Linked DNA regions of Homo sapiens: region 1 is linked to region 2. The links are contacts of gene promoters, found by promoter capture Hi-C in human tissues and cell types (Jung and others, 2019). All regions are on one chromosome and are shown on one strand. Each heading gives the region's core, a stretch centred on a gene start or on the middle of the fragment in contact. The rest is flanking DNA. Distances are from core to core; before and after follow the strand shown. Region 1 has its middle 45 kb from the start of UGT2B17. Region 2 holds the start of UGT2B15 (UDP glucuronosyltransferase family 2 member B15).

Region 1 (3,521 bases), core at 881-3,380, 49 kb before region 2:
AAAAAGGTTAGACAAATGGATAGTTAGAATAAACAGTGTAGAGAAGACCTTAAATGACCTGATGGAGCTGAAAACCATGGCACGAGAACTTCGTGATGCATGCACAAGGTTCAATAGCTGAATCAATCAAGTGGAAGAAAGGGTATCAATGACTGAAGATCAAATTTATGAAATAATTGTGAGAAGACAAGGTAAGAGAAAAAAGAAGAAAAAGAAATGAACAAAGCCTGCAAGAAATACAGGATTGTGTGAAGAGGCCAAATATACATTAGATTGGTGTACCTGAAAGTGATAGGGAGAATGGAACCAAGTTGGAAAACACTCTTCAGTTTATTATCCAGGAGAACTTCCCCAACCTAGCAAGGCAGGCCAACATTCAAATTCAAGAAGTACAGAGAACACCATAAAGATAATCCTCGAGAAGAGCAAACCCAAGGCACATAATTGTCAGGTTCACCAAGGTTGAAATGCAGGAAAAAATGTTAAGGGCAGCCAGAGAGAAAGATCGGGTTACCCACAAAGGGAAGCCCATCAGACTAACAGCAGCTCTCTCAGCAGAAACTCTACAAGCCAGAAGAGGGTGGGGGTCAATATTCAACATTCTTAAAGAAAAGAATTTTCAACCCAGAATTTCATATCCAGCCAAACTAAGCTTCATAAGTGAAGGAGAAATAAAATCCTTTACAGACAAGCAAATACTGAGAGATCTTGTCACCACCAGAACTGCCTTAAAAGAGCTCCTGAAGGAAGCACTAAATATGGAAAGGAACAACTGGTACTAGCCACTGCAAAAACATGCCAAATTGTAAAGACCATTGATGTTAGGAAGAAACTGCATCAACTAACAGGCAAAATAACCAGCTAACATCACAATGACAGGATCAAATTCACACATAACAATATTAACCTTAAAGGTAAATTGGCTAAATGCCCCAGTTAAAAGACAAAGACCGGCAAATTGAATAGAGTCCAGACCCATCAGTGTGCTATATTCAGGAGACCCATCTCACGTGCAGAGACACACATAGGCTCAAATAAAGGGTTGGAGGAAGATCTAACAACCAAACGGAAAACAAAAAAAAGCAGGGGTTGTAATCCTAGTCTCTGATAAAACAGACTTTAAATCAACAAAGATCAGGAGACAAAGAAAGCCATTACATAATGATAAAGGGATCAATTCAACAAGAAGAGATAACTATTCTAAATATATATGCACTGAATACAGGAGCACCCAGATTCATAAGGCAAGTCCTTGGAGACCTACAAAGAGACTTAGGCTCCCACACGATAGTAAAGGGAGACTTTAACACCCCACTGTCAATATTAGACACATCCATGAAACAGAAGGTTAACAAGGATATCCAGGACTTGAACTCAGCTCTGCAACGAGCAGACCTAATAGACATCTACAGAACTCTCCACCCAAAAGTCAACAGAATATGCATTCTTCTTGGAACCACATCACACTTGTTCCAAAACTGACCACATAGTTGGAAGTAAAGCCCTCCACAACAAATGTAAAAGAACAGAAATAACAACAAACTGTCTCTCAGACCACAGTACACTGAAATTAGAACTCAGGATTAAGAAACTCACTCAAAACCACACAACTACATGGAAACTCAACAACCTGCTCCTGCATGACTACTGTGTAAATAACAAAATGCAGGCAGAAGTAAAGATGTTCTTTGACACCAATGAGAACAAAGACACAATATACCATAATCTCTGGGACACCTTTAAAGCAGTGTGTAGAAGGAAATTTATAGTACTAAATGCCCACAAAAGAAAGCAAGAAAAATCTAAAATCAACACCCTAACATCACAATTAAAAGAACTAGAGAAGCAAGAGTAAACACATTCAAAAGCTAGCAGAAGGCAAGCAATACCTAAGATTAGAACAGAACTGAAGGAGATAGAGACACACAAAAAAACCCTTCAAAAAAATCAATGAATCCAGGAGCTGGTTTTTTGAAAAGATCAACAGCAAGTATTGTAGAACAGCAAACATTGCTGCCTGATCCTTCCTCTGGAAGCTTCATCTCAGAGGGGCACCTGGCTGCATGAGGTGTCAGTTGGCCCCTACTCAGAAGTGTCTCCCAGTTAGGCTACCCAGGGGCCAGAGACCCACTTGAGGAGGCAGTCTGTCCATTTCAGAGCTCAAACACCATGGTGGGAGAACCACTGCTCTCTTCAGAGCTGTCAGACAGGGATGTTTAAGTCTGCAGAAGCTTCTGCTGCCTTTTGTTCAGCTATGCCCTGCCAGCAAAGGTGGAGTCTACAGAGGTAGGCAGGCCTCCTTGAGCTGTGGTGGGCTCCACCCAGTTCAAGCGTCCTGGCTGCTTTGTTTACCTACTCAAGCCTCAGCAATGGCGAATGCCCCTCCCCCAGCCAGTCTGCCTCCTTGCAGTTGGATCTTGGACTGCTGTGCTAGCAGTGAGCAAGGCTCCATGGGCATGGGACCCACTGAGCCAGGCATGGGATGTAATCTCCTGGGTGTGTCATTTGCTGAGACCATTGGAAAAGTGCAGTATTAAGGTGGGAGTGTCCTGATTTTCCTGGTAGAGTCTGTCATGGCTTCCCCTGGCTAGGAAAGGGAAATCCCCCAACCCCTTGCACCTCCGGGGTGAGGCGATGCCCCGCCCAGCTTCAGCCTGCCTTCCGTGGGCTGCACCCACTGTCCAACCAGTCCCAGTGAGATGAACCAGGTACCTCAGTTGAAAATGCAGAAATCACCCATCTTCTGCATTGATCATGCTGGGAGCTGCAGACCAGAGCCGTTCCTGTTCAGCCATCTTGGTTCATCACTATAGACACGTTACAAAGGAAGATATACAAGCAGCCAACAAGCATATGAACAAAAAGGTCAATATCACTGATCATTAGGGAAATGCAAATTGTAACCACAGTGAGATACCACTGATCATTAGATAAATGCAAATCAAAACCACAGTGAGATACTATTTCACACAAGTAAGAGTGGCTATAATTAGTCAAAAAATAGCAGATACTGGTGAGGTTGCAGAGCAAAGGGAACATTTATACACTGTTGGTGGAAGTATAAATTAGTTCAACCATTGTGGAAAGAGGTGTGGTGATTACTCAAAAAGCTAAAAGCAGAACTACCATTTGACCCAGCAGTCCTATTACTGGATATATGCCCAAAGGAATATGTATCATTCTACCATAAAGACACATGTACATTTATGTTCATTGCAGCACTGTTCACAATAGGAAAGATATGGAATCACCTAAATGCCCATCAGTGGTAGACTGGATAAAGAATATATGGTACATATACACCATGGAATACTATGCAGCCATAAAAAAGACTGAGATCATGTACTTTGCAGGCACATGGATGGAGCTGGAGACCATCATCCTTAGCAAACTAACACAGGAACAGAAAACCAAATGCTGCATGTACTCACTTATGAGGAGGAGCTAACTGATGAGAACACATGGATGCAAAGAGACAACAGACACTGGGGTCTACTTGAGGGTGGAGGGTTGGGGAGAAG
Region 2 (3,522 bases), core at 695-3,194:
TAAGTGAGAAGATCCAAGCTTGCTTCCCCTTAGCCTTTCACCATGATTCTAAGTTTCTTGAGGCATCCCAGTCATGTAGAACTGAGTCTATTAAACTTCTTTTCTTTATAAATTACCCAGTCTCAGGTATTTCTTTACAGCAGTGTGAGAATGGACTAATGTAGCCACTATGAACTTAAATACACATTTGTCTTCCCTCTGAAGCTGCAATAGTAACAAATATACCTTTAAACAACTCTTTCAGTTCCACAATTAATTCATCTTACCTTACCCATGAAAACAGCTTTCCAGGAAGTACTCTAGTGTCTACAGTTTATTAAGCTAGTCCCTTGATCCTTGGTTCTCAAAGTAAACCATGAGTTTTTTGAGCTCAACACTGAAATCTTTACACCTACTACTGTCTTGGTTCATCTTAAGATCTTAATATAATTAGATTTTTAAAATAAATATATTTACAAATGAGAATTAAAACATTTTCAGAATTTATTGACATAGAGATATGTGCTCTCCCTTAATTTGGCCCCTATTTTCTTTGATGGAGAGATGCAGTTTAATAAAATATAGATTAAAACTTAGATGTTCACTTTCAACAAGATTTCAGTTTTTGAAAGAAATAATTGTCAACCTGTTATTGAAGGAATGTATAAACATTAGAAATCTCAAGTTTTAGGCTTCTGTTTCTGGAGTAGAGCCACTATATTACTCAACTGTGAAGGAATCCTTCTTACATGAAAAACAAAATTTAATTTCTAAATGAGGAAACTGAGGAACTCAAAGAGAAACAAATTCCTCAATCCTGCATTGATAATTTTTCTAGAAATATGTGTAAATACTAAATTTATGTGTCTGCCTTCATGAAGATGTTTCTTGAGGTATCTATTGACTTTTTTTAAAGATGAAAAAATGTATAGCAAAATGATATGTGATAGTTTAAAGAAATCATTAGTGCTTTACAATGAAGGTTTATGACTCTCTGGGTGTCCTGTAGTAGTGATGGCCCCAGGGTTCTAACTGATTCTATAAGGTCAACATTCTATAATATTTTTGAGACTGATAGATCATCTTACATTTGCAATTCATAATTTCCCTTAAAAACACTATCTTCTGACATTATATTTATATAAGCTCACCTTCAAAGGCACAGAAAAGTTAGAACTTAATAAGCACCAGTTAGACACATGACTTACCTAGAACTTCACTATAAAACTGGTCCCACTTCTTCAGATCATAAATTTGAAACCAAAAGTCAAAATAAAGCATATGTATCATATTTTTTATCCTCTCCATGAAAATCATTTGATCACTTAATTCTGACATAACAACAGGTACATAGGAAGGAGGGAACAGAAATCCTCCACCATTCTTCTCAAATGTGTAGCCAACAGAGAATCGAAGACTGTACAGAAAGGGTATGTTAAATAGTTCAGCCAGTAGCTCACCACAGGGATTAAGGGCATCTGCCAGAATGACATCAAACTTTGACTCTTGTAGTTTCATCATAAGTTTCTTATTCAAAACTGCATCTTTACAGAGCTTGTTACTGTAGTCATAATATTCCCAACACAATTCTTGTAATTGTGAAAAATATGACCAAAATGTATTTTTTGAAACACCATATATCCATCTATCGAGAATTTTCAGAAGAGAATCTTCCAAATAATTTTTAGTTAAAGATGTAGGATAAACTTCTAATTTAATAGCAGATGATTTACTGGCATTGACAAGAGTAGAAGCCGAAGATGTCAACACAGTCACCTCATGACCCCTCTGAACAAGCTCTTCCAGGATTGTCTTCATATTTATCCAATGGCTGTATTCTGTGGGCCACACTAGCACCTTTCCACAGCTTCCAGAGCTAAAGTAACAACTGAGCTGTATCAGCAGAAAGACTGACGTCCATTTCAGAGACATCCTGGTCTTATGCAATGCTTCTTTTCCAGTTGTTGTTTCTTTCTGTCATTTCTCATACTTATATCTGAGGAAAAATCAATCAAGTTAAAATATAACTGCTAAAATTTGAAGTAAATACATAATACTAACAGTCTGAATAGGTGCATGCCAAGGAGACCAACAAAAGATTGATGACCTCATATTTATTTTAGTGTGTTTGGTGTTCTTTTATGTTTACAATTACTCTAGTCAAGCAATAATTTTTATGACCTAGAATATGTAAGTAACCTGTCTTATGTAATTATTTTATAATACTGTTAAGAACAGTGGCAAGTGAGAGGCTCCTGCCTGTTCGGTGCCCTTGACATAGAGAGAAGAAGTAATTATACAACTCAAACGGCATTTTTTAATATCGTGGTGCAAGTAATGTCTTCTAAAACTTTGTTGACACATAATTCATATACCATATGACTCACCAATTAGTGTGTACAGTTCAATGTTTCCTAGTATATTCACAGAATTTTACATCCACTACAATAATCAGTATTATCTCCAAAAGATTCTATACAATAGCCTCTAACCCCCCACTCTGAAATTTTGCATCCATCCTACCCTAGGCAACCACTAATCTAATTTCTATCTCTATAGATTAGCATTTTCTGGACCCTTTAAAAAATAAATGAGGGTTTTCCAGTGATCATGGCAGATGGGATGCAGGACTAGATTGCAGCTCCAGACAGAGCAGCATGCAGAGGCTTGCATTGTGAATTTTAGCTGCAGATCAACTGCAAGAACAGACCAGCAATTCTGAGAGGATCCACACACCCTCTGCAGGAAGAGTACTGCTCCTGCAGGACCTGGGAGACATCCCAAACACTGTGAGTGCCCCAACAATGGAAGTGGGAAAGGGTGATCCCCCTCTCCAGAATACACATCCCCACTGGAGAAGCTGAAGTTCTGTTTGCAGGAGAAGTTCCTGACTTTATGTGAAGCTGAGTCAAATTAGAGAACCAAGCCAAGCAAAATACAGGGGTAGAGGAAGTAGCAGAAAGGCACTGGGAGCTCTCTGGATACCCAAGCGGCTCATTCCTGCCTGGCATCACAGGGATCTATCAGGAGGGTGGCCAGTGATGCAGGGGGTTCAAAGATTCTCCTCAGGACCTGAAGGCTTGAAGGGATGAGTAACTCCTCCCTTCTCAGGCCCAGCCCCAAGATGCAAGACCACTTGCATCAGCAGCGTGTGTCAGCAAGATAGCAGAAGCAGGAAGAGAGCCGGCCAGAAGACACTTACCCTGGCTGGAAGAGATGTACCCCTGAAGATCAAGAAATAGGCCATCCAGGTACTACATAGCAGTCACAACAGACTGGGACACTTACTGTTTACAGAGGACTACAAAACCCCTGTCCCATCCTCACTTGGGGCTGATGCCATTTTAGGCCTCAGCCCACCTGCAACCAGGCGTTCATTAAAACAGCATGTTGCTCCACACCGCCTCCTGTTGTCTGTTGGCGCGCTGTTGGGGTTCAAACTGATTCAAGAACCTTACATCTGGTGCCAAATCCTAGGAGGGGCTCAGGTCTGTGTCGCTTGTGGACCTATCCCTCCACCCCAGAGAGCAGGCCACAGCAATT

Evidence for each region. Contacts are between HindIII fragments. The study calls those that stand out against the background at their distance.
Region 1: a contact is called between a fragment that was not itself captured here and the fragment with the promoter of UGT2B15 in region 2, in 2 of the 25 tissues and cell types used here (dorsolateral prefrontal cortex and mesenchymal stem cells).

What each region holds. Positions count from the first base shown.
Region 1 is chr4:68,620,010-68,623,530 of GRCh38, forward strand. No RefSeq gene overlaps it. Among named protein-coding and RNA genes, the nearest start is that of UGT2B17, 45 kb to the left of the region's middle. The HindIII fragment of the contact is 5,524 bases long and covers 1-3,521 here.
Region 2 is chr4:68,668,708-68,672,229 of GRCh38, forward strand. UGT2B15 (UDP glucuronosyltransferase family 2 member B15) reads right to left here and starts at 1,945. Exons shown (of 6, transcript NM_001076.4): 1 at 1,188-1,945. The coding sequence starts at 1,911. The HindIII fragment of the contact is 11,998 bases long and covers 1-3,522 here.